2 separate regions of the Homo sapiens genome follow, and region 2 is linked to region 1. Evidence: promoter capture Hi-C in 16 types of primary human blood cells and fetal thymus (Javierre and others, 2016). All regions are on one chromosome and are shown on one strand. Each heading gives the region's core, a stretch centred on a gene start or on the middle of the fragment in contact. The rest is flanking DNA. Distances are from core to core; before and after follow the strand shown. Region 1 holds the start of CASP5 (caspase 5). Region 2 overlaps GRIA4 (glutamate ionotropic receptor AMPA type subunit 4).

Region 1 (6,942 bases), core at 2,995-5,494:
ATGTAAAAGAACAGAAATTATAACAAACTATCTCTCAGACCACAGTGCAATCAAACGAGAACTCAGGATTAAGAATCTCACTCAAAACCACTCAACTACATGGAAACTGAACAACCTGCTCCTGAATGACTACTGGGTACATAATGAAATGAAGGCAGAAATAAAGATGTTCTTTGAAACCAACGAGAACAAAGATACAACATACCAGAATCTCTGGGATGCATTCAAAGCAGTGTGTAGAGGGAAATTTATAGCACTAAATGCCCACAAGAGAAAGCAGGAAAGATCCAAAATTGACACCCTAACATCACAATTAAAGGAACTAGAAAAGCAAGAGCAAACACATTCAAAAGCTAGCAGAAGGCAAGAAATAACTAAAATCAGAGCAGAACTGAAGGAAATAGAGACACAAAAAACCCTTCAAAAAATTAATGAATCCAGGAGCTGGTTTTTTGAAAGGATCAACAAAATTCATAGACCGCTAGCAAGACTAATAAAGAAAAAAAGAGAGAAGAATCAAATAGACGCAATAAAAAATGATAATGGGGATATCACCACCGATCCCACAGAAATACAAACTACCATCAGAGAATACTACAAACACCTCTACGCAAATAAACTAGAAAATCTAGAAGAAATGGATAAGTTTCTGGACACATACACTCTCCCAAGACTAAACCAGGAAGAAGTTGAATCTCTGAATGGACCAATAACAGGATCTGAAATTGTGGCAATAATCAAAAGCTTACCAACTAAAAAGAGTCCAGGACCAGATGGATTCACAGCCGAATTCTACCAGAGGTACAAGGAGGAACTGGTACCATTCCTTCTGAAACTATTCCAATCAATAGAAAAAGAGGGAATCCTCCCTAACTCATTTTATGAGGCCAGCATCATCCTGATACCAAAGCCGGGCAGAGACACAACCAAAAAAGAGAATTTTAGACCAATATCCTTGATGAACATTGATGCAAAAATCCTCAATAAAATACTGGCAAACCGAATCTAGCAGCACATCAAAAAGCTTATCCACCATGATCAAGGGGGCTTCATCCCTGGGATGCAAGGCTGGTTCAATATACGCAAATCAATAAATATAATCCAGCATATAAACAGAACCAAAGACAAAAACCACGTGATTATCTCAATAGATGCAGAAAAGTTCTTTGACAAAATTCAACAACGCTTCATGCTAAAAACTCTCAATAAATTAGGTATTGATGGGATGTATTTCAAAATAATAAGAGCTATCTATGACAAACCCACAGCCAATATCATACTGAATGGGCAAAAACTGGAAGCATTCCCTTTGAAAACTGGCACAAGACAGGGATGCCCTCTCTCACCACTCCTATTCAACATAGTGTTGGAAGTTCTGGCCAGGGCGATCAGGCAGGAGAAGAAAATAAAGGGTATTCAATTAGGAAAAGTGGAAGTCAAATTGTCCCTGTTTGCAGACGACATGATTGTATATCTAGAAAACCCCATTGTCTCAGCCCAAAATCTCCTTAAGCTGATAAGCAACTTCAGCAAAGTCTCAGGATACAAAATCAATGTACAAAAATCACAAGCATTCTTATACACCAACAACAGACAAACAGAGAGCCAAATCATGAGTGAACTCCCATTCACAATTGCTTCAAAGAGAATAAAATACCTAGGAATCCAACTTACAAGGGATGTGAAGGACCTCTTCAAGGAGAACTACAAACCACTGCTCAAGGAAATAAAAGAGGGTACAAACAAATGGAAGAACATTCCATGCTCATGGGTAGGAAGAATCAATATCGTGAAAAATGGCCATACTGCCCAAGATAATTTACAGATTCAATGCCATCGCCATCAAGCTACCAATGACTTTCTTCACAGAATTGGAAAAAACTACTTTACAGTTCATATGGAACCAAAAAAGAGCCCGCATTGCCACGTCAATCCTGAGCCAAAAGAACAAAGCTGGAGGCATCACACTACCTGACTTCAAACTATACTACAAAGCTACAGTAACCAAAACAGCATGGTACTGGTACCAACACAGAGATATAGATCAATGGAACAGAACAGAGCCCTCAGAAATAATGCCGCATATCTACAACTATCTGATCTTTGACAAACCTGAGACAAACAAGCAATGCGGAAAGGATTCCCTATTTAATAAATGGTGCTGGGAAAACTGGCTAGCCATATGTAGAAAGCTGAAACTGGATCCCTTCCTTACACCTTATACAAAAATTAATTCAAGATGGATTAAAGACTTAAAAGTTAGACCTAAAACCATAAAAACCCTAGAAGAAAACCTAGACATTACCATTCAGGACATAGGCATGGGCAAGGACTTCATGTCTAAAACACCAAAAGCAATGGCAACAGAAGCCAAAATTGACAAATGGGATCTAATTAAACTAAAGAGCTTCTACACAGCAAAAGAAACTACCGTCAGAGTGAACAGGCAACCTACAAAATGGGAGAAAATTTTCGCAACCTACTCGTCTGACAAAGGGCTAATATCCAGAATCTACAATGAACTCAAACAAATTTACAAGAAAAAAACAAACAACCCCATCAAAAAGTGGGCGAAGGACATGAACAGACACTTCTCAAAAGAAGACATTTATGCAGCCAAAAAACACATGAAAAAGTGCTCACCATCACTGGCCATCAGAGAAATGCAAATCAAAACCACAATGAGATACCATCTCACACGAGTTAGAATGGCAATCATTAAAAAGTCAGGAAACAACAGGTGCTGGAGAGGATGTGGAAAAATAGGAACACTTTTACACTGTTGGTGGGACTGTAAACTAGTTCAACCATTGTGGAAGTCAGTGTGGCGATTCCACAGGGATCTAGAACTAGAAATACCATTTGACCCAGCCATCCCTTTACTGGGTATATACCCAAAGGACTATAAATCATGCTGCTATAAAGACACATGCACACGTATGTTTATTGTGGCATTATTCACAATAGCAAAGACTTGGAACCAACCCAAATGTCCAACAATGATAGACTGGATTAAGAAAATGTGGCACATATACACCATGGAATATTATGCAGCCATAAAAAATGATGAGTTCATGTCCTTTGTAGGGACATGGATGAAATTGGAAATCATCATTCTCAGTAAACTATCACAAGAACAAAAAACCAAACACCGCATATTCTCACTCATAGGTGGGAACTGAACAATGAGAACACATGGACACAGGAAGGGGAACATCACACTCTGGAGCCTGTTGTGGGGTGGGGGGAGGGGGGAGGGATAGCATTGGGAGGTATACCTAATGCTAGATGACGAGTTAGTGGGTGCAGCCCACCAGCATGTCACATGTATACATATGTAACTAACCTGCACATTGTGCACATGTACCCTAAAACTTAAAGTATAATAATAATAAATAAATAAATTAAAGAAAAAAAAAGACTGCAGATTATTCATATATGTTATAAGGTTTAGAAAGCACTGATCTATTCCAGTTTCTTCCTTTTTCCAGTGAGGAGAATGAAACCAAAGACGCAATATGACCTGCTGGAATACGAGCTGCTTAAGTAGCCCAGGACTCCAACTCATAGGCTTTTTTAGCTTCTGTGTATAAGACAGTTGGCCTGAAAGTAGTGTGCAGTATGGACTGAAGGGTTAAGTTTTTGGGAGTGGGAAGACAGTTAAAAGTCTATGATAGCAACCTAAGATATATTACATTATAAGAGTTAGTACCAGGACTACATAGAAAGGTGGAAAAATGCAATCACTTTAAACAGACCAATAAGATAATTCAAGATAAGAGATGACAACACGTTGAGAACACAGAGGCTCTCAGATCTGATTGTGGGGAGAAGGTTCATAGTCTGGAGGATTAATTTGGAATCAAGAGGAAGCAGAGAAGATTTCAGAGTGCATTTAGAAATTTCCGGAGTTTTCTCACACAAATAACTTACTCTGTCTTTCCTTACTCTCTCTTTGATTACCAGAAGCTGAAAGAAAGGAATTAACCTTTTTCTGGCTTGAAAACATCTAGAGAACATACTCTCCTTCAGTGTCTCTACACAGTCTCAGGATTCAAACTACATACCACCAATAAGAGAAAGATTCAGCATGCACACTATTGGTTGATTTCCCTTTTGGTATTTCTGCCTGTCACATAGCAATAAATCAAGATTTTTCTAAGACCTGAGTACCCAGCTGCTAGTCAGAAAAGGGCCCAGACTCACCAGCCATAGCTAACAGCCTCTGTCTCTTTGTACAGCACTGGAAAGTGCCTCAGACTCAGAGATAAAATACACTAGGTACTTCCTTATTGCAGGGAGTGGGGACAAGTGATTACAGATTATGGGAAGTTGCTTCTGGGAACCTATAGTTTCATCATTGGGAAGTGCCCTGTAGTAAGCAAATTGGCTTTCTATTCTTGAACTCTAGATTCTTCCCTGGGGAAAAAAAATGCAAATGACAAAACATTGTTTTGTGGGTTGAAACCTCAGCCTGGTTTTCTTTTTCCTTTTCTCTCTCCATAGCCCCACATCTTCTTTTATTCATCCCTCTCTTCTGATCTGTCAGTTTTTCTACCTCTGCTCGTCTAAAAACACATGTCCTGAATGAGTAAAATCTAACTAGTTTCCTTGCATCTTCCCATAAGAATTAACCAAATATTTTGTATATCTTGGGTTTCTTTATTTTTCATTTCAATTTTTATTTGAGTTTCAGGGGTACATATGCAGGTTTGTTACAAGAGTATATTAGGTGATGCAGAGGTTTGTAGTACAATTTAACCTATTACCTAGGTAGTGAGAATAGCACCCAGTACATAGTTTTTCGGCTCTTGCCTTCTTCCTTCATTCCTCCCTCTGGTATTTCCCTGTGTCTGTTATTCCCGTCTTTATGTCCATGTGTACACAATATTTAGCTAGAACTTACAAGTGAGATTATGTGATATTTGGTTTTCTGTTTCTGCATTAATTTGCTTAGAATAATGGCCTCCAGTTGCATCCATGTTGCTGCAAAGGGCAGGGTTTCATTTTTATGGCTGTGTAACATTCCATAGTAGCAGTGTACCACATTTTTTTAAATCCAATCCACCATTGATGGACACCTGGGTTGATTCTATTATTTTGGCTACAGTGAATAGTGCTGCGACAAACATTTGAAAGCACATGTCTTTTTGATAGAACAGTACATTTTCCTTTGAGGATTCAGTCAGTAATGGGATGCTTGGACAAATGATAGTTCTTTTTTTAGTTATTTGGTAAATCTCCAAACTGCTTTTCAAAAAGATGGATGCATCACATTACTGGACTTCAAGCTATGCTAGAAGTCTACAGTAACCACAACAGCAAGGTATTCGTACAAAAAAAACAGACACAAAGCCCAATGGAACAGAATAGAGAACCCCAAAATAAAGCCACACACCTATAACCAACTGATACTCAACAAAGTCAACAACAACAGCAAAAAGAAACAAGGAAAGGATTGTTTATTCAATAAATGTATTTCTTGTTTAAACTGTGCTGAGGAATCATGATGGAGTCTTCTCCTCCCCATCTCCCTGTCATCTTACGCTTTGATTGGAGACAGTTCTGAAGGAATCCTCTTATCTACTTCCTGGAATGCTGTTCTTCAACTGACTAAAACTGCTTTAACAGTTAATTTTTACTTAGGGTGGCAATTCACTTCTCCTTTTTGATATTCTCTGAGCAAAGACTGATCACAGATGTAGTCTCAGGTTGTAGTAGAGTATGCATGATAACACAGAAGAGATATGCCCAGAGAAACAGTTAATAAAAGGTAAAAAAAAAAAAAAAGAGAGAGAGAGAGAGACTGTAATGTGTTCAACTATGAAGGTGTTTAAGAAGTCAGAAATTAACTCTCATTTAATCTGTTAAATATTAGAAAAAAACATATTTGCAAGTAAGGGGTAGTTCTTCGAATCCTCCCTAAATCTTAACATCCCTGAGTGCATGATTTCACCCCAAACTCGTTTTCTCTGCACCATGCCAGGACTTCACTGTGCACACCATGCATCCTAGAGTTTCTTCAGGGTGTCAGGCACCATCTGCCAAGCGCTTCATTTTGGATGGCTGTCTTATCTTTTCAAGAAGTCTGTGAACTACTGAGGGTTGATTCAAAACTTACTTTGTCTTAAATACTTTTGCAAAGGGTAGAAACATGCAAGTTCATGGATTTGTCAGTAGCAAACTGTGGGATTTGGGAAAAGTTCTTTATCACACTACACTGTCGCTGTCATAACTAGCTGTCTTCCCCCGTCTCTCCTGCTGAGCTCTAAATTATTTGAAGTCAGATACCTGCTGTAACTTATATCACATCCCCAAAGCAGAAAGCCCAGCAAACGATTTTTCTTTTTTTAAAAATGGCACAAAATAAATTTTTGTTCAAGAAAGTAATTAATAACATTGCTATGTTTGTAAGTCTGATTTTCTTTTTTAAATTTTTATATTTTATTTTACTTTAAGTTCTGGGAAAGAAAGGTGCCAATAGCCAGTTTGGGTCTGACAGATTAAGTCAAACACTCTAAATTCCTTAGTCACTCTAAGTTCCAGTCCCTGTTTCTTCAGTGTGGGAGAAAAATGAGGACAAGTTTTCATTTTTCTACCAGATTTATTATTTCAAAAAAGTTTATTATTCAGCAGACATAATTCCAAAAACCTTTACAGAAGGATCTCTTCACTTCCTATGAGAAAAAGAAATAATTAAAAAAAAAAACATAGGAAAGAATTTTGTTAAAGACATGCAAGTTATAAAGTTATACCACCAATGGGAACATACACAATTTTAAAAGGAAAGACCACATGCTATGTTTAAATATACCCTGCTGAGGTGAAGGAGAGAAACATCCAAAAGTGAGGGTTTGTAGTCTTACGGCCACTTCTAGGCCAATATCAGATGAATCTCAAAAGGGGTCTAAATGAAAAACTTTGGGAGAAGAGCAACGTGCT
Region 2 (6,942 bases), core at 2,123-4,622, 830 kb after region 1:
GAGTGTAGAATTTAGAGAAAAGCAAACAATCAACACTCTCCTTTCTTTCCACTTTTTCTGGAGTTGGTCTAAGTGACAGGAGATTTGGCATTATGCCTGTATTAATTTCAGTAGTCTCCTATTTGGATTCCCTGTCCTCCTTCTCTTTCCACTCTTCGGATGCATCATTTCCACTATATCAAACTAGCATTATAAAAGCAGTTTTATAAATCTGTCTCTTCTCTGCTCCAAAGCTTCGAAGGTTTCTACTGTTTCAGTATTGTTTCACAATGATCAGTGGAGTAATTTCTAAACTTTCAGTATTTAATTATCCAAAACTATTTATCGAGTCCCTTTTAGATGCCAAGTCTTCTTCTAGGCACAGTGAACAAAACAAGCCTCCTGACTTCATGAGCTTACCTTTTAGTATGGGAAAGAGACAATAAACAAGGTGAGTGAGTAAAATCTAGAGTATATTAGGTGGTGGTGAAGTGTTGGGGAGAAAGTAAAGCAGAGAAGAGGAATAGAAAAGCACAGGATGAAGGAGCTGAAATTTTAGATAAAGTAACCCAGAACGGCCTCACTGAAGAGAGGGCATTTGGGTAGAAACCTAAGAACATAAAGGCAAAACCCTGAAGACCCATCTTGGGGAAAGCACAGCAGGGTGAAGCCTGAGCCAGAGCACCCCTGGCAAAGCAGCCAGATGTCTGGTGATGTTTGAGAGCAAGAGAGCAGTGGATGACGTCAGTATAAAGGAGCAATTGGAGAGTTTGGACCTGTAAGTGGTATGATCTGGCTTGCCTGAAAAGTTCCATTCCTGAAGCTATGCTATGAGTAGTGCAAAGCGGGCAAAGGTGGAGGAAATAAAAGACATGTAAAGAGGCATTTGCAAACAAGAGGCTTGGGCCTGGGTGGAGGCAGTGTCGGTAGGAAGAAATGGCCAGGTTTTTGATATATTTTGAAGGTAGCCTTGACAGAATATGCTAAAATACGAGATGTGATTGTGAGAGAAAGAATGGAATTAATGGTGACTGTGATTGAAAGGCCTTCACATCACAGCCTCATCCTTCCTTGCTAATTTCATCGCTCTCTCTGCATGCTGAAGTGTGGTGAAAAGTCCCTAAGCTGGAGAATGGAAGACTTGAGTTCATTCACATTTCTGCCACTTAGTGGGGTTATGCTTTGATGTAAGTCACATAAATTGTTTTTATTTCTTCACCTTTATGGTGGGGATAATATCTACTTCACAGGGCTGTTATGAGGTTCAACTGTATTGTGAAATACTAATAAAGCATAATGTAGTTTATGAATACATTACTCCAGCAGCCTGCTCTATTAACTATCAATGATTAATAATTTATTAAGCATTCTCCAAGCTCCTGCCTCTGTGCCTTTGCTTTATGATGCAGCAGCTCCTTCCTCCTCACCATCTTTATTCATCAACCCTTTCCATCCTTTAGGGACCATACTACAGTCCAAGTCATTCTCTCCATGGTGAAACCCCCTTTGAAAGGGTCTAATCTTTTGCTTAACACTGCTTTCCCAAGGTATCGCAATATTGAATAGGTTTGACACTCAAAATTATGTCTTACATACCTTACATGCTTAATATTAGACAAAGACCTTGTTTGAGTGCCTGTTAACTCACAAACATATATTTTAATTCCCTTATAAAAATACAATGGTTGTTTTTACACACATTGGAACTGTGAGCTTTATATAATGTGATATAAAAAAGTATCAAATCAGAATTATAAATTTTATATAGTGTGATATATAAAATATATAGTAAAACAGATAAAAGAAAAAGTTGTACTTTATGAGCAAAATAATAGCTATATAGTAATTATGCTAGATATTTATTCTGATTGGAAATTAGTCTTTTGCTATTTGAGTTTAAAATTATTCAAATTTTTCAAAAATGCTTTACTTAAAATAGAAACACATTGCCTTTATTGTAAAAAGATGTTTGTGGAGGCCCACAGTGCTAAGAAGATAAATAATGATGGAGGCAAACTTGAAAAGAGATCAGTGTATTCATAGGGAATATTCAAAATCTACAGATTGTTTCTAGAATCATTGATGTCTATAACCAGAGAGAAAAATGGGTTTCTCAGACCTCTGTCATAATTTATTATACTACTTTGGGTGATGAAGGAGGTGGCTGCAAGGATAGTTTTCATCAGAAGTCAACTGACACCTGAAATCCAAATGGAAAAATATGTGCTTCTGAAGGTCAAAAAAACCCTAAGAGTTCAATCTGAAAATAGAAGTAGAATGACCACCAGTAGAATAGATAGTAGTCTGACTCAAATCATCTCTCTATGATTTATGTGTCATTAATCACTAAGCTGATTTATTCTGTATCCTTAATCTAGAAACTATTCTCCTTCCTCTGCATGGTCCTAAATCTGGCCCCCATTACTTCTCACCTGGATTACTACCATGTGGGTTCCTAAGTGATTTTCCCATTTCTGTGTTTCCCACATCCATTGTATTTTCCACACTTCAGCTGTAATCATCCCTCTAAGACACATTGTTTTGTCACTCTTTTCTGAGAGTCTATGAAGTAAAACCTAAATTTCTTTAAATGATAGAGAAAGCTCTTGTAATATATCCCTTGCCTGTTCACCTCTCCAGTCTTAGAAGCTCTTTCCACAGCCCATGCCAATTCTCCACATATCCCTTCTTGTCCTTCCAAACATACAAAATAAACTGAAGTTTTTGAAGCTTCTGAATGTGACCTGCTATGCAAGATAAAAAGTATATTCATACAGTCTTTTAAGGAGAGTTTCCTGAAGCCTCCACACAACCGTTCCACTTATAACCCATTGCCCACAACTTAGTCACAGAGCCATATATCTAGCTGAAAGAGAAGCAAGGAAATATATTTATTCTGACTGTCCATAGGTCCAAGTTAAAATCCCACTGCTTTGGATGAAGGGGTGAAGTAGTAGTAGAGAACCACCAACTTACAGACTCTACGACAGTGCTTTAACTTTAAAGATTTAAAGTATCAAATTTTCTTATAAGATGTCATCTGAACTAAATATGAATACTAGGGAATCAGAAGACAGTAAATGTTAGTGTCAGAAAATGCCTTAGGAAAAATCTAGGACCCAGAATAACCACCTTTAACAATGATTATTATCAATCCATCTTTGAAGATGAATTCTCTACTTTTACTCTTGAGTGTTTGTAGAAAAGGGAAAACTCAAGACATTCCATCTTATCTTGGGTTTACGTGAATAGCTTCAGGCTGTAAAAGTAGGAAAATCTTTGCTTATTTTTAGTATGCCCTTTTTGAACTACGGCATAAATAAATACTATAGTTACAGCTGCAGGTAATTTTACCCAAGCTACAATGTTGGTTATTCCTCCATGTACTGAAACCTGGGAGTCCAGACTGTGGCCTTTGAACATGTTATTTCAGTACTAAGCTGCTTTGGAAAGAGTCCAACCTAAATGGTTATTAAATCTACTCTACAGTTCCAGCATGGTGGCATTAAATGCAGTGAGGATTACAGAATCTTATTCCTTTCTTGACTCAAATCAATAAGTGGCGTTAGACACACACAGACACACACACCTTTCTCCTTGAATCCACCAGTTTTGGATACTGACAAATTGTGCCAGACCAGAGATATTGATGATGTAGCAGCAAGAACCTCCATAGCAATTTACAAGATTTATGAGGGAGGCTTTAATTTAACTAACTACAAGCTGCTGCTATGCCCCTTGCCATGTTCCCTTTTCAGGCTCAGCAACCCCCCATGGGACAGACCTAGTCTTCTCCTTCCCAAACCAGTTCCCATAATCTAGATGTTTCTCTATCCCATATTCATCAAACTGGCATACCCTTCATCTTATTACTTCATTATTCTGATGATATTCCCTGATTATTTCCACATTCTCACCTCTTCCCATTTTCTCCTCAATTTCTCAATCTGAAAAATGTCTTCTATATCCAGCATTCCATTAACCCTGCTCATGCTAAGTGCACCAATGACCTTCTCATTGAAAAGCAGAATGGACACTTTCTAGTTCTCATCCAAGTAAAGCTTTTTCAGGGCATATGGATAACTCTTTCTTTTCTAAATACTTTCTTCCCTGGCACAAATGTATTCTGCTTCTCTTTCTGCTGCTCTGTGTGCTGACAGTTAAATAACTCTTGCAAACAAAAACATCAAATAAATAAGCCCAGCTATTGTTGTGAGTAGCAACATCTCTGAATTGGTACTCATGCAAAATAGGTCATTATCCATGGATGATGTAATAAGTGTTGACATGTAAGGGTGCAGTAGCTCAGGACTGCTTACCTCATTTTGATTCTATTTAACATAATTGATAAAATCTTTATGTGATATCATAACACTTAAAAATATTTTATATGTAATTGACAGTGTTCTTTAGTAACTATGAAAAAGCCCTTAATTACTATTATAATCTAATAAAGTGATTATGTCGATGATATGCTCTGCTATTCTAAAAAATTATTTTCATTACTTTGAATTTATTTATATAATGCTGTGTATTTTGCATAATGGATAGTTTACCTATCGGTTTTCCTAGATAGTAAATTCTTTGTAAAGACAAGAATCACATCTTTATCTTTTGTTTCACCTTTGTATTTCACATTACCTATCTTTTTAAAAATGTTCTTATAGGTACATAGTAGCTGTGTATATTTATGGGGTGCATGAAATATTTTGATACAGGCATACAGTGCATAATGATCACATCAGAGTAACTTAGTATCCATCTCCTCAAGCATTTATTCTTTCTTTATGTTATAAACATTCTAGTTATACTCTTACAGTTATTTTAAAATGTACAATAAATTATTGTTGACTTTAGTCACCCTGTTGTGCTATCAAAGACTATATCTTATTTATCTTATCTAACTATATTTTTGTACCTATTAACCATCCCCATTTCCCTCCTCCCTCACTATCCTTCCCAGCCTCTGGTAACCATCATTCTACTATCTCCAATAAGTTCAGTTGTTTTAACTTTTAGCTCCTATAAATGAGTGAGAACATGGGAAACTTGTCTTTCTGTGCCTGGCTTATTTCAGTTAACAAAATGTCATCCAGTTCCCACATCTTTATCTTGATATAATTTATAGAATTCTGTATGTAGTAGGTTTTCAGTAAATTATATAGAATTAAAATGTTAGACAGCTTTTTAGAGTAGAAGCAAGATTTAAAATATCCTTTACAGTAGTGAATTTCCTGTTAACTACATGATATTCATCTAAAACTGCAGTATTCATTCTTTGGCCAACAATATTATACTACAAATTTTCTAATACCTAGGAGATGCAAATCATAGCCAGATGTGGAAATAGTATGACTTGACTTATGATTATCTAGTTTATATAACAACTAAGTTACATAATCATAGATTCAACAGCAGTATTTTATCCTAGTTACAATATATTTCCAGCTATGTTAGCAAATAAATAAGACACTCACATCTGAATATCAATGAATAATAAGAGAGCATATTAGAATCAAACATAGCTTATAAAAGAGTATGATTTTAGCCAAGCTCTGAAACTATTACTGCATGTCCTTTGCACTGCAATGAAAGGATGCCATTTATTTCTGACTATGATTAATGGGGCTTTTTAAGTAACCAACTTTCTTTGCCATTCAACAAAGATTGTGTCCTAGGGTTCTGTCTGATTCCAATTCTAGTGTCATTTGTAAATCTAAAAAATCAGATAATGGAAGGCTGGATTTGAATTATAATTTTGTTTTTAGAGTTAGTCCTTCAATTTGTAAGGTAAGTGGGCATATCTATAAATTTCATCAGAAGGTGTGTGGCTCCACATTCTGTAAAAGTCATGTCAGCAGGAGAATAACAACATGGATGCCTAGTCCTGACATGAAGCCTGACAGCCAGAAATGCAGCAATATTTAGAGTATCGTGCCAAGCTGTGAATTAAGCCCAGGGAGAAGACTATTTCTATGTGTGGGGGCCGTTTTTATTATTTTTGCAACACTCAAGCAAACAAAAAAAATCTTAGCATTATTCTGGTATGATGATAAATAAAAGGAGAAAAAAGAAAAGTAATACGTCAATTGGTATTTTTAAAAGCATTCATTTTAAGTCGAAGAACATGTTCATAGGTGTCAAAAAAAGATTTAAAAGAACATTGCCTCAGTTACCATCAGAGCATAAGCCCCTGCAACAGAATAAATGAGGCATGAACATATATATTAAGGAAGGTTTCATGTCATCACGTTACATATGTGTCGAATGGGAAACAAGAGAAAGAATGCTGGGGTTTTGGGGCGGAGGATCTAGGTAAGATTTGAAAAGATAATTACTGGCACGCATTACAAAAGGAAAGACTAAATGGAGCAATAGATATACCAGAATAATTATATAGTAATTAACATGCCCTCTTTCTTCCTCTTCGGGGAATTTTTTTTCATTTAGATAAAAATGAATCCTGACTGCCACAGTATTTCATTTGGCAGGATATCAGATAATTTATATTTCAAATATGATCTCATCATCAGTTCCATCTGTTGATCTTAACTGAGCATCAGTAATGTTTGGAACTCTGACATGTAGAAAACATACCTGAAAAAATTCAAAATCTCTGAATCTATGAGACTCACATACCAATTAGAAAACTCAACAAATATGCCCTAATCTTCCAAGTGCGGTATACTCGTTTTAAATCTTCACTTTTAATCCACCCAGCTCTCTACCCAATTCCAGTATCACAGGAAGAAGAAACTACAGACAGTTGCTATAGAATGAGCTCAAATAAGTGTTAGACTTTGTTAAAGAGGACTAGAATATTCTGTTTATGCTAAACCATAAAGTGAAAATATAACTGACTAACAGGCTCTGATCCTAACCAATCTTAGTGTATGGGATATTTATAAATTCAAAGAATCTTTTTTTTATTCTTCTCTCACATTACAATTCAAAAATGAGAGA

What was found. Contacts are between HindIII fragments. The CHiCAGO score rates a contact against its expected background, and 5 or more counts as called.
Region 2: a contact is called between a fragment that was not itself captured here and the fragment with the promoter of CASP5 in region 1, in 1 of 17 cell types (M1 macrophages). The highest score is 5.8, in M1 macrophages.

The regions. Positions count from the first base shown.
Region 1 is chr11:105,018,924-105,025,865 of GRCh38, forward strand. CASP5 (caspase 5) reads right to left here and starts at 4,245. Exons shown (of 10, transcript NM_004347.5): 1 at 4,207-4,245. The coding sequence starts at 4,213. The region is part of intron 1 of LOC124902742 (a long non-coding RNA gene); the gene reads left to right. CASP1 (caspase 1) reads right to left here. Exons shown (of 9, transcript NM_001257118.3): 9 at 6,585-6,942. The HindIII fragment of the contact is 8,276 bases long and covers 1,023-6,942 here.
Region 2 is chr11:105,853,734-105,860,675 of GRCh38, forward strand. All of the region lies in intron 4 of GRIA4 (glutamate ionotropic receptor AMPA type subunit 4), which reads left to right. Among named protein-coding and RNA genes, the nearest start is that of MSANTD4, 170 kb to the right of the region's middle. The HindIII fragment of the contact is 1,331 bases long and covers 2,708-4,038 here.